Regions from separate parts of the Homo sapiens genome. Here region 1 is linked to region 2. Evidence: promoter capture Hi-C in human tissues and cell types (Jung and others, 2019). All regions are on one chromosome and are shown on one strand. Each heading gives the region's core, a stretch centred on a gene start or on the middle of the fragment in contact. The rest is flanking DNA. Distances are from core to core; before and after follow the strand shown.

Evidence for each region. The method cuts DNA at HindIII sites, captures the fragments that hold promoters and counts their contacts. A contact is called where the count stands out against the background at its distance.
Region 1: a contact is called between a fragment that was not itself captured here and the fragment with the promoter of SH3GL2 in region 2, in 2 of the 25 tissues and cell types used here (neural progenitor cells and thymus).

The regions. Positions count from the first base shown.
Region 1 is chr9:17,835,023-17,841,217 of GRCh38, forward strand. No RefSeq gene overlaps it. Among named protein-coding and RNA genes, the nearest start is that of SH3GL2, 260 kb to the left of the region's middle. The HindIII fragment of the contact is 4,048 bases long and covers 1-3,367 here.
Region 2 is chr9:17,573,659-17,580,424 of GRCh38, forward strand. It overlaps SH3GL2 (SH3 domain containing GRB2 like 2, endophilin A1), which reads left to right and starts at 5,408. Exons shown (of 9, transcript NM_003026.5): 1 at 5,408-5,629. The coding sequence starts at 5,585. RefSeq lists a silencer at 4,220-4,418. The HindIII fragment of the contact is 4,711 bases long and covers 2,888-6,766 here.

The DNA.
Region 1 (6,195 bases), core at 94-2,593, 260 kb after region 2:
GATGTCTCTCTTTAACTCCCAGTGGTATCCTCATCCCGGCTTTAGCACCTGCTCATGGAATGGAGGTTGATCTCAGCCTGACCAAACTAAGTTTTCCTTTCTGATGTGTTAAGCTATATTTTCTCTATCCTTCCATGATTTGAAAATGTCTTTGTTTTAAAGTCTAGTTTTCCTAAAAGAAATTTTGTTACATGGATAGATTGCATAGCGGTAAAGTCAAAATATTCTCTGATGTTGTCAGTAACAGTTGCTCAATCAGATTAGCTAATTTATCAGTGTGAGTGAATGAAAAGAGGAACCATAAATCAGGATGTAGATGGGAGGTGGGAAAGAAGCTTCAAGAAGAGGCTGAAGATTCATGTAATTTAAGGAAGCCTGGGTTAATAGGTAAGAGCAGTCTAGAAGAACACCATGGCTCTTTCGTTTACGTAGTATTTTGTTTAGAGAAGGTAAGAATGAGTGCTGGGGAAAAGCTTTTCTTTACTACTTTCTAGTTTTTAACATATAAACCTTTCTTCTAGCTAAGAGACTAGGTTTTCTAAAATCCAAGTTGTCCAAAATATAATTTGTCTTAAAATGACCTTGCATACCCCACATTAATAACCAAAGCTTCCACCTTAAGAAACTGAAAAAAAAGTAAATTCACCCCAAAGCAAGTGGAATGTAGGATATAATAAAGATTAGAGCAGACACTAATGAAATGGAAAGCAGAAAATTAGGTAAAATCAGGGAAAACAAAAGTTGGTTATTTGAAAAGACCAACAAAATTAAAATCTCATCTAGACCAGTGGTTCTCAACCAAGGGTGATTTTGTACCCCAAGGGATATTTTGTCAATGTCTGGAGAAAAATTTAATTGTAATGCTTTGTGTGTGTGTGTGTGTGTGTGTGTGTGTGTGTGTGTGTGTGTGACAACTCGTGGGTAGAGATCAGAGATGCTCCTAAATATTCTACAATGCACGACAGCCCCTCCATGCTAAAATTATTGTGCCCAAATATCAATAGTACTAAGGTTGAGATACCTGATTTAAACTGACAAAAAAAAAAAAAAATGAAAAAGGAGACATCACTACTAATCTCACAGAAATTAAGAGGATTATAAGAGCACATGATGAACAATTTTAAGCTAACAAATTAGACAATGTAGATGAAATAGTTCATAGCATGATACAAATTAATGAAACTGACTAAAGAAGAAATAGAAAACATGCATAGACTAGTAAAGAATTTTAATAGTAATGGAAAAAATCTTCCCTCAGAGAAAAGCATAGGTCCAGATATCTTCACTGGTGAATTCTATAAAACACCAATTTTTTAAAAAAACATTTCCACAAATTGTAAGAGAGAACATTTCTGAACAAATTCCATGAGACCAGTATACCCTTATACAAAGCTGGACAAAGACATCTCAAGAAAATAAAACTACAGACCAATATTCCTCATGGTTGTAGATGCAAAAATCTTCAGCGAGATATTAGCAAAATGAATCCAGCAACATATAATATGATTATACACCGTGCCAAAGTAGGATTTCCCCTAGTAATAGAAGGTTGGTTTACTATCTAAAAATCAATCAATGTAATGTCACATTAATATAATACTATGAATAAAGACAAAAATCACATGGTCATCTCAATACATGCACAAAACATTTGACAAAAATCTAATCCTCATTCATGATAAAATTTTTTAGTAAACTGTAAATGGAAAATACTTTTCTCAACCTGATAGAGGAATTCTATGAAAAATCTGTAAGTAGCATTATATAATACTTATTGGTTAAAGACTGACTGCTTTTTCCTCTAAAATTGGGGGAAAGACTACATATTATATGATTCTATTTATATATATCTTGAGATAAATAAATCTATAAAGGCATGTAGCAGATTGGTGTTTGCCTGTGATGGGAATGGAGTGACAGCAAATGGGCACTAGCAATCTTTATGGGGGAATAAAAATATGCTAAAATTGGATTTTGGAGATAGTTTCACAACTCTGTCAATTCACTAAGAATCATTAAATTGTAAAATTAAAATGGATGAATTTTATGGAATCTAAATAATGTTTAACAATACTCTAAAAACGTTATTATGTGTGGGGTGTGGGGTGTGTGTAAGTACATGTTTGGGAATGATTCTTAGAATTTCCAAGGGCTTGAGCCTAGTCCTGGCCTAATCTTGAATTCGCTGTCTGTCCTTGGTAAAATTACCTTATCAATTTTTTCATCTATAAAGCAAAAGGGCAGAACTACTTACTTTCCAAAATTTCTTCCAGTTCTTCTAACATTGTATGTATCAGGGTGCTTTTGTGTGAATTGTGGCTCATGATTCAGGTAGCTAAGATTACATGCTAGGCTTCAGAGAAAGGTCTTCCTCTCTGCCTTAGAGAGTTAAGAGACCATTAGGATGAAAGAACCTTTTAGAGATGGATCAGGGTTAGGTTATGCCCTTCACCGTGGGGGTGAGAACACTGATTGATTAACTTGTCCAAACCAGAACATCTCCTTAAATAGCCAAGGTGGGACTAGAATCCACTCATCTGGTCCCATGTCCATCCTTCCCCAGGGGAAAGTTGTGCTTTTATATTTCTTTTACTGGGAGTCTGGAGAGGGTAAGCTTGGGAAAAAAGTAGGCAAGAAAGAACTCTCGGGTGCCTATATGAGCGGGTTTGATTTTCATGCTTGTAGCTATGAGCCTGAGTCTGTGGCAGCTGTGGACGAGTGGGAAGGGTGTTGCCATATTTATGTCTGGTATCTTCCTTGCATGACGGTAAACACACACTCGTTTTCTAGCCATCTTTTTGCACTTGTCTCCCTATCGTGAAGTAAAGTCACCATAAACATCAGCTTTCAGGAAAACTCCTATTTATTCAAAAGATATTTTATTCTCATAAAAGCCAAACCAAAAAAAAATAATTATGTAAAAGTCAAAGCACAGTAAAATCCCTATAAATCCATGGCCTGATTTCACAGCTCTCAGCAGGGACCCACCAGGGTCCCACCAGGTCCGGTTCATTTCTCTTTCCCCTTTCATCCTATTACTGCTTTCTCATTGCTTCTTATCTCCAAGCTCCATCCCAGAGTATAATAGTTAGGGTGACAATCTGTCTGCCACCTTGTGGTTAGGAACCTAAGTGTTGTCGGTTAAGTTCCTTGGATCTAGAGAATTTGGAAAGTTTACATTTGACTATCAGGGTAATAAAAACCATAAAGCTCGTAATTAATGGTAAGAACAGATGTCATGTATTAAGGACTACAAGCTAAGCAGAATGCGAAGCTCTCTGTATGCATTAATGCATCTGTTTCTCAAAATAACCTTATGAGACAGGCACTGTTATCTCCATTTCCTGGTGAAGCAACTGAAGCTCAGATGAGTTAAGTAGAGGGTTTAGAGTTAAGGAAAATGAGTGGGCAAGGCCCTCAAATGTGTCTACTTCTAGGGCTGCTCTCTTGGTGTGACCATTGCACCACTCTCCTCAATCCCTCTCATCCCAATCCAATTTCAACCAATGCTCAAATATGTCTACCACACCACTGTTGATGGACCATCCACCCTTCCCGTGAAAGGGAACTTACTACCACTGAGGCATTACATTCCATAGTAACTTTCTGCAGCCAGTGCCCAGCACTTGTTCTGGAACTGTTATACCAACACATTTAAAATCACATAATTGGCTTTACATTTTTTAAAAAAGGGTATCATGCCCCTTTGCCCCTTGAGCCCTCACCACTCTTACAAGGCAATCCTAGTTCTTGAACAGTCTCTAAATGACAAGGTTTTGTGTCTTTCTACCACTCTGGTTTCTCTCCTTTGACCAGGCCCCAGGTCATCCCTACTCCCTCTTAAAAAGTGGAGTTTGGAACACACAGCACAGGTGGAGCGATGGCATTACCTTCCTCTTTCTAGTTTCTGTACTTCTAATGCTGCCTAAATTTTGTTTAGTTTTCACATTATTCGGTTAATTACTTGGGAAGTGCATTTTAATCTCTATATGGTTAAATAAAATAGATTTAGAAATAACAGTTGAATACATAGAACTTGAAGAAACATTTGTTAAATGCTCTTTTATATCCACTGTATCTTATTTCAAAATTGATTGCCTCTATGTCTATTTCCATGTAAGCTTGCTGATGATTTTACTCCTTGACCTCATAATCCAAATTTGGCCAAGGATGTTTGCTGGTCCTCTTTTTTAAATGCCCTTTCCATAGAGGAAAAATAAACAGACCCTTGTTGTGACAAGCATGGCCGAGCCATGTCCTAGCGGAAGGGGTTGTATCCTGTGCTCATTCCTCTCCTGATTAATTGCCAAGCTGCATATTTGACCACAGAAGATGCTGAGGAACTCTGCCCACTCCAAGTTTAGCCTTGATCTTGGTGAGTAGAAAAATTCTCTGTGTCAATGGCTAAAATTACCTAGTCAGGTTCTCTCTAACTCTGGCCTGCATTTTCCATCATTTGTTTATTTGCCGTGGGAAGAGATCATCTTCCAAAGTGGGCCAAAGGCAGATAGATTCAGCTCTACCCCATGTTGAGGCATAATCATTTTCCAAATCTGCCTGGGGACGCAAATTAGTTCTGGATGCTTTCCTGTCACTTGGGCGGAGGGCTTGTCTCCAGCATTAATATTGACATAGATATAAACTATTGCTGCCTTTCTAGTTTTTAACCAGTTCTTACGGCCTCACAAATATTTTTTAAAGGTGAAAAACAAAACACTTGCCAATTTCTTTATTTCTTAAAGCACTCAAGCGGTAGGTCCTCTCTGATACCCTTAAATCATAAGAACATTTCCCCAACCAGGCCTTTGTCCTGTAATTCTACCTGGAAGCAACTTAATCCACGTTTGAGGTTGTTGCCCTCTTCCTAAGGACCGACGACGCAGAAGGTGGTTGAGTAGGATGAAATCTGAGCCCTCCTGGCAGGCTTGATTTTTAACACATGTCTAAAGCATGTATTTAGCTGTCACCAAGAGAGCTGACAGTTTCTGGGAGAGGTACTATGTACAAAGGACCAGCAGTGGGCATTCCCAGACCACACCCACTTACAGCATGATGTGATCTGAGCTTCTTTTTTCTCCAGAGCCAAACACACAGAATGAAGCGAAAATTCAACCACAGTAATAAAAAAAGAAAACAAACAAACAATGACAACAACAAAACCCTACCATTTAAAAGGCACCAGAATAAGCCATACCAGAGTTTTTTGGGGAGTGGCACCCTAAAAGGACATTGATGCAGGTAGAAAAAAGTATTCAAAAGCAAGTTTACTCATCAAAAGTACATTTTTCTGTCTTGGCTTAAAAATAGTACAGGGAATGTCTGATTCTAGCTATCACCAGAGATCCTAGAACCAACTGAGTTCCTTAGCACTGGGATTTCTTATTTCTTGGGCTGGATCTAGGCTCAACCCCTAAAATGCTGCCTCCTTACAACATTGAACAATTGACAAGCACCATCTAAACACAAAATATTGCACTTTATTACCTTATTCAGGATTCGCAAGTACCCTGCAAAGTAGGCATTATTAGCCCCCTTTTGGAGATGGGAAAATGAAGTTCAGAGAGGATGAGGACCTGCCCCAAGGCTGCACAGCCTGTGAGTGGGGAGCCTTCAAAGTGTCAAAGTGGCCTATAGACGCTTAGGTCTTCATCTCTAAAGCCTATCTTCTTAACCGCTGTGCCCTGCTGCCTCTGCTGGACCTTCTCAACGCTGTGTCCTGTCCCTGACCCATACCCCCACTTCCTTTCAGGTTAAGTGTTAGGATTATCATAAACCTCCTAGTGTTACCCTCCAGGGAAATACATTCTCATGCTTTAAACAAAATAATCTCACCACTTTCCCTAAGAAAGGAGAGGCCCCATAAGGGCATGCTCGCCCAGTTGTCAGCTGGTCCAGCAGTTTGCTGTCCAGGTTCCTACCCCTTCAGGGGACTCCAGCCCCAGCCTGAATCTGACCATGAGAGACCCTAAGTGAGAGCTGCCCATCTGAGTACATCAACCCTAGAACTATGAGAAAGAAAACTAAATTGTTTCAAGGAACTAAGTGTTGGGAAGTTTGTTATGTATAAGTAGACAATCAGAATATTACTTTTAGCAAATTAATATCTTTTTTTTTTTTGAGACAAAGTCTGGCTCTGTCTCCCAGGCTGGAGTGCAGTGGCGTGATCTTGGCTCACTGCAACCTCCGCCTCCCAGG
Region 2 (6,766 bases), core at 4,158-6,657:
ATTTGCCCTTAATTAAGATGATTCCCATTCCAGAAGTGCCACTGCTCTGAGTCCAGTTGCTTGGCATTTATTTACAAGCACTTAGATGCCAATTCCCAGGGGATTGGGAGGTTCAGACCCTGGCAGCCTGAACCATACCAATCACATAAACAAAAGGTTTGATTTGTAAATCGGAATGTCAATGTCTTACAGGGACAATTGACAGTTTGCTAAAAGACTATATTCCTTGTCACTCAATCTGCCCACCCTTTTCTGAGAAGGAAGCCTAATGCAGTGCTTAGCAGGAACTATAGTTGCCTAAATCTCTGAGTTGGTAGCCAAACAAGAAATGGACCTGAGATTAGAATATCATTGCGGGAAGGGGAAAGGGGATGTAACGCCAAGTGTTTTTGATTGCAACCTAGAAAAAGCAGTGTTGGCTGAGTGAACAAAGGGGAATTTATGGGAAAGGCAATGGGAGCTGAATTGTCAGGACCCTGGAGAACCGGGCTTGGACACATCGAGGGAGTAGTAACCATAACCATTGAACAATCTGCTCAGCCAGTTTCCCAGTTTTTTTGACCCTCTGCTGGACCTAGCTTTCAAAATTTAATCAGGCTTTCACAATTGCATTTAGCCTATATCTAGCAAGTGTCTGTATTATCTGTGAAGAGTTATAAAGACCCTGCACTCAAAGAGGTAAGCATGTCTATGGTACATATTAGGCCAAATACAACACAATCAGGGCTGAGGCTTCAAAAATAAAGAGAGGACACGAGGGTAAAAGGATGGGGAAAGACTTCAAAGGAAAAACACTGCAAATGGGCACTGGAGGTGGCAGGATTTTGTGGGGAAGTCAGAACTATTTCAATCTGCAATGGAAATAGTGATGATGGTACAGATGAAGAGTCTAACATGAGTCACCCACTTGGTTAAGCACTTTCTTCTCCTCTGTGATTGGGTTAAAAGGGTTTATCTAAGTGAAAAGGAAGTTTTTGCAGGGAGAGGCCCCTGTACTTTGGGGGGAGGAGGGCTATATGGGAGAGAAGGAAAGGTGGGAAAGGTGGCCATCCCCGGCAGAAAGACCCACACATCCACTTCAAAAGAGGTTAAAAAAAAATGCTTCTCTCTGTGTATCTGTTGGAGAGTGGGTGGTAGGTGACAAAACTGGAAGCAAGGAAACAAAGATGGTCTTTCCCTTGATTTCTCATCTCTAGGAAAGGGCGTGTTAGCCCTGCCTGAGCTAGGTGGGTGTTCAATGCTACTGGGGCGCATCCAAAGGCACAAAATCTTATGTTAAGCGCCACTCACCCTGGAAAAACTGGGTCCTGCGCAATCGAGGTTTTAGTATCTGGTGAAGGCTTTTGAACATCAGATCCAATGTGGTCAGAAGAAAGCATCAGTGTCAATGATACATTGTTCATTCTTTTATTCATTCATTCATTCATTCAAACCTCTTCTATTTATTAACACTGACTAGAGGCTCTACCCTGAATTGAGGCTAAAGGCTGGAGTAGAAAAAGTAAGGATAAGTCACTTCCCTTCATTGCCTCTGTTTTCCTATCTCTAAAATAAGAAGTTGGAGTTTAATGCCTTTGCTTTGCAATGTTTCTTATGCTTAACGAGCTTACACATGAAGTCAGGAGTAGTTTGCCCCGGTATGAGCCAGAGGCACAGAGACAGGGGTTGAAGCTCAGAAAGATGAATGCTGCTGCTTTTCCTCTGCCTCCTTGAAGCTAGGGACCCTCTGAAAGGTGCCAGGGATGCAGCAGCTCTGTGCAAATGAGAGGTCTGGTATTTGCCAGAAGCTTTACCATAATGCAAGGAGAAATAGTGCATGAATGATGTGATGGGATTATTGCTGACCACGAATTTACTGCCCAATTAGTGAGGTGATATTTTGTGGGGGTTTCATTTAATTGGGACTTTCCTGAGCAGATCTAGGTTTATTTAACAGTTTACATTGATTTTTATCTCGGGAGACTAGGGCAGCATGCTGAATTACCACAACCTTTTACCAAACAAAGCTCTTCCTCGTTGACTTTTGATTCCCCTTTCCCTGCATTGTGCTTCTGCATTTCTCTCCAAAGCCTCTGTTGAAGATTCTTTGCAACCAAAGATGGCATCCATGCTTAGAATTGTTCAGTGTCTGGGGTATTTGTTCCTCTGTATTCAAGTAACAATAAATGTCCCTAGGAAGATTTTTTTTTCAAATTACTCGTCTGGAAACCCCTTGGGATTCAAGGTCCAGCCCATACATGCCTCGATACTTCCCCTTCTCAATCCCAGCATCTCCTACCATGATGCTTGCTAGTAGGAGGAGCTTAACAAATTTCTTCAAAGGTGACATCTCAAAGGTCTTTACAGGCATAAATTGTGGCTTCAATACAAATGCTGGGTTTAGATGATGTATCAGTCTGTTTTTACGCTGCTGATAAAGACATACCTGAGACTGGGCAATTTACAAAAGAAAGAAGTTTAATTGGATTCACAGTTCCACCTGGCTGGGGAGGCCTGACAATCATGGCAGAAGGTGAAAGGCACCTCTCACATGGCAGCAGACAAGAGAAGAGAGCTTGTGCAGGGAAACTCCTGTTTGTTTTTTTTTTCTTTTATTATTATATTTTAAGTTTTAGGGTACATGTGCACATTGTGCAGGTTAGTTACATATGTATACATGTGCCATGCTGGTGTGCTGCACCCATTAACTCGTCATCTAGCATTAGGTTTATCTCCCAGTGCTATCCCTCCCCCCTCCCCCCACCCCACAACAGTCCCCAGAGTGTGATGTTCCCCTTCCTGTGTCCATGTGATCTCATTGTTCAATTCCCACCTATGAGTGAGAATATGCGGTGTTTGGTTTTTTGTTCTTGCGATAGTTTACTGAGAATGATGATTTCCAATTTCATCCATGTCCCTACAAAGGACATGAACTCATCATTTTTTATGGCTGCATAGTATTCCATGGTGTATATGTGCCACATTTTCTTAATCCAGTCTATCATTGTTGGACATTTGGGTTGGTTCCAAGTCTTTGCTATTGTGAATAATGCCGCAATAAACATACGTGTGCATGTGTCTTTATAGCAGCATGATTTATAGTCCTTTGGGTATATACCCAGTAATGGGATGGCTGGGTCAAATGGTATTTCTAGTTCTAGATCCCTGAGGAATCGCCACACTGACTTCCACAATGGTTGAACTAGACACTCCTGTTTTTAAAACCATCAGATCTTGTAAGACTCATTCACTACCACGAGAACAGTGTAGGAAAGACCCACCCCCATAATTCAATCACTCCCACTGGGTTCCTCCCACGACACGTGGGAATTGTGAGAGTTACAATTCAAGATGAGATTTGGGTGGGGACACAGCCAAACCATATAAGATGAGGTGCAGAGGATGCCTGGGCGACTAAATCAATGGTTTCCAAAGGATTTAATGTAATGCCCTTAAGTAGTTTTTTTCTCCCAAGGTAGTTTCTTTGAAGTTAAGCAGCATGAGACTTCCAGGTTGGTGGATGAAGAACCAGGGAAAGATAGAAACTGCCTTTTTTATAATGTAGGGCTCAGTTAAGTATTCAAAGTTCCAAGGAGGCAATTCAGGCCCCCATTTCACACCTTTCACTGTTAGAGAGCAGAGCTCCTATCCATCCCAGGCCCTTCCACTTTGTAGATCAATTGCTCTATCTTTTGGCAGCTTCAACAAAGCCCTGTCTTATGAAAATGCTTTATTGTTCAGATCAGGGACCTGGTAGTAAAAATTAACTATAAAATACTTTTTTTTCTATTATGCAAGTAATGGGTAGCCTTTTTAAAAATTGGAAACATAGAGAAAAAAGTTTATTCCTAACAACCGGAGCCTCAGTGGATTAAAATTACTCAGGTTTCTCACTGATGCTACATGCCCATTGAACGTCAGGTGGGGACTCTGCACTGCTTTAGTCTCACTCTGGATACTGGCTGACAGACCACAGCTTTCTAGAATATTGCGGCCGAGGAAAAGAAAGCTTTGCGGCATCTCATACATCTCATATTGCTGCTGCAGAAGTGACAGTCACTTTTCCTCTTAAACCTCTAGTCAAAACTTGTAACCATGCCTCCACTTAACAAGAGGTTTGGAAAGTGCAATTCTGCCATGTAGGGAAAGGTATATGAACAGTGGTAAGGGCTACCACACTGGAGAATAGCTCCTTTCATCTGCCTCCCTTTGCAGCCTGCGTCCCTAGTCCATGCGCTCTACTGCTCCAGTGCCCACCACTGCTTGACTCTGCCTTTGTGTGTGTCAGTTCACATTATCAAGAAGGACCATGACTGGTAGCTCTACGGATGGAGGACCCTTTTGTAGCAGGTGTTCACCCTGTGCCCAAGCCGCAGTGCCTAGAAGAGTGGGGATGGGTCTGTGGCTCCTATCAGGCTGCAGGAGTTGCGGAGACAGAAAAAGTATTTCTAGGACTCCCATTTGGCCTTGCAGTCTCTACACATCCTTGGCAATTTCTCCCATCTTGGCTTCTCCTTCTTATCACTTTGGTCCACATACGGGGACAGCGTCTAAGTTCTTTCTGACCACCTCCTCAGTCCTAGAAAAACCAGACTTGGTTAAGTACCAGAGCACAGAAGGCATTTAGTGCTGCTCTGCTCCCAAGTCATCTATTAGTTTCACTTTAGCCAGCCATACCTCCTTGGTTACATATGAAGCATCTGTATATAACTTAGTATCATGCTTTTTCACATTATATTTTGATTTTTATCGGACCGGAAACCCTAAATCCACAAGCATAACAACAAGATCACATTTGGGCTTTTTCATTTCTGTAACCAGAGGATTGAACGCTAGTTTTGTAGTAAGACTTCAATTCTATTTATCCGTCCAGGCTTAAGGGTTCCTGTTCTTCTTTTTAAGTCATTAAATTGTATCAGACAAGGGGGAAAACGCGTGTGTGACTTTCCCTAAGGTAAGATGGGCTTAAGGGATATTGAAACCAGGGCAGAGAAATGTTTTCTGTGACCCACCAGTCAGGGCAAGGCATAGAAGGAGCAATGACTTATTCATTAGCCCAGATAGAAGGCCAGTCTTTTTCAGGCTGCGGCGCAGAGACGCCAGGCTCAAAGGGCAGGAGGGCCGTCTGCAGGCAGCGCCGCCGCGGCTACCTGGAAGCCCAGCAAGTCACCTGAGTCCTGCGGGTGCCTGGGCTGCCAATCTGCAGCGACCCGTCCGCAGCCCCCGGGGGCAGGAACACCAACCCCGGGACAGGAGGACGTCCTCGGCCCGCTGACTAGGGATCCGCCAGCGGGTGCCGCTGAGCCACATCCCCGCAGTTGGCGCCAGCATCCAGGTACCGCGCGCCACAGCACCTGCCTGGGCGTTCCCGCGCTTGGGGCGGGGCTTCCCGCGTCCCCTTTAAGAGGCCGCATCACCCGCCCTTGACGTCAGAGTGTTTCTCCGCAAGAGCCCGTGTCCCGCTAGGCTCCGCGCCCTCGCGCCCATAGCCCCGGCGGCGGCACGACCAGAGGCGGCCAGGGGAGCGCGCCGCCCCGCTCGGCCCTCCAGTCCCCCTCCGCCTCCTCCCTCCCGCACAGCAGCCGCCAGCGCGGCCTCCTGCACCATGTCGGTGGCCGGCCTCAAGAAGCAGTTCCATAAAGCCACTCAGGTAAGGCGCGCGGCAGGTGCGTCCCGGGGCAGTCCGGGGCGAAGCTGCGAGGGGCGCGCTCGGCGCTGGCCGTCCGGCGGCAGCTTGGGGAGTTCGGCACCGAGCCTCGCCCGCGCCGGCCGCGCCCCGCCTCGCAAGCCAAGGCGGCGGCTCGGGGCATCCCCGGTCTGGGCGTCCACCCTCGGTCCCCCGCCCCCGGCTTGGTGCGCGCTGCCTTCCCGCGGGTCCCCGGCGTCCTGCCTGGTAGCGCTGCTCGCCGCCCCCGCATCATCTCGCGCCCGTGCTGCAGGAAGGGGACCGCGGCTGCACTGCTGCCGCGGCGCGCAGGTGCCTTGGCGGCGCGGTGGGAGATTATGTAAAGTCGCCTCTTCACGGGTGACCTTGCGGAGTCGGTGCACCCGGCTTTCCCGGGATGTGTTGGCATGAGCGGTGGCCGCACTGGGGGTGGCGGGGCGGAGGCCGGCGGTTTGCGCTCCTCTCCCTTACCCTGTTGTCAGAACCCTCCTTCCCCGCCGCCCGCAGGCTCCAGGGGAATGGAAGGCTGGGGTCTTCCTTTAGGGACCCGCATACATTAACTTTTACCTGGAGAACTCGGTCGTGAAACTCCTTTGAGGCCAGGGCATGACAAACAGTCTGCGGGTCTTAAATATTTCCCTAAAACAACCAAATTGTTGAAGACTTAAAATCATCATGTATTTTAAATTGTTTTTAATAAATCTTTGGCATCTTGGATGTGCCCATTTTTCTTTATGGGGTTAATAAGCTGTGACTGTAATAAAACTGATTAATTTAGATTCTAATAATTAAAATCATTGGACTCAAAGAATTTTACATAGGGGCAAGTAAGCGAATACTTACGCTGTGACCTATTTCTTACATAATGTGTGTGATTACTACTTTTTTATCCTTCTGAAATAGGTTCAAATTTATGGGATCTTTAAGGATTTTGATGACTTACCGCGAAATGTTTTTCATGATTTGGTGTTAAATAGTTTTTCATAGGTTAGCCTTAATTAACGAGCTTTCTCATAATTTCTCGGAAGTAGTGAGGTTTTTCCTAGGCTACCACAGTGGCAGCCTTGTTATGAACCACATCCAGAAAAGGTGAGGGTTGTGTTTTACAGAACCTTGGTTAAC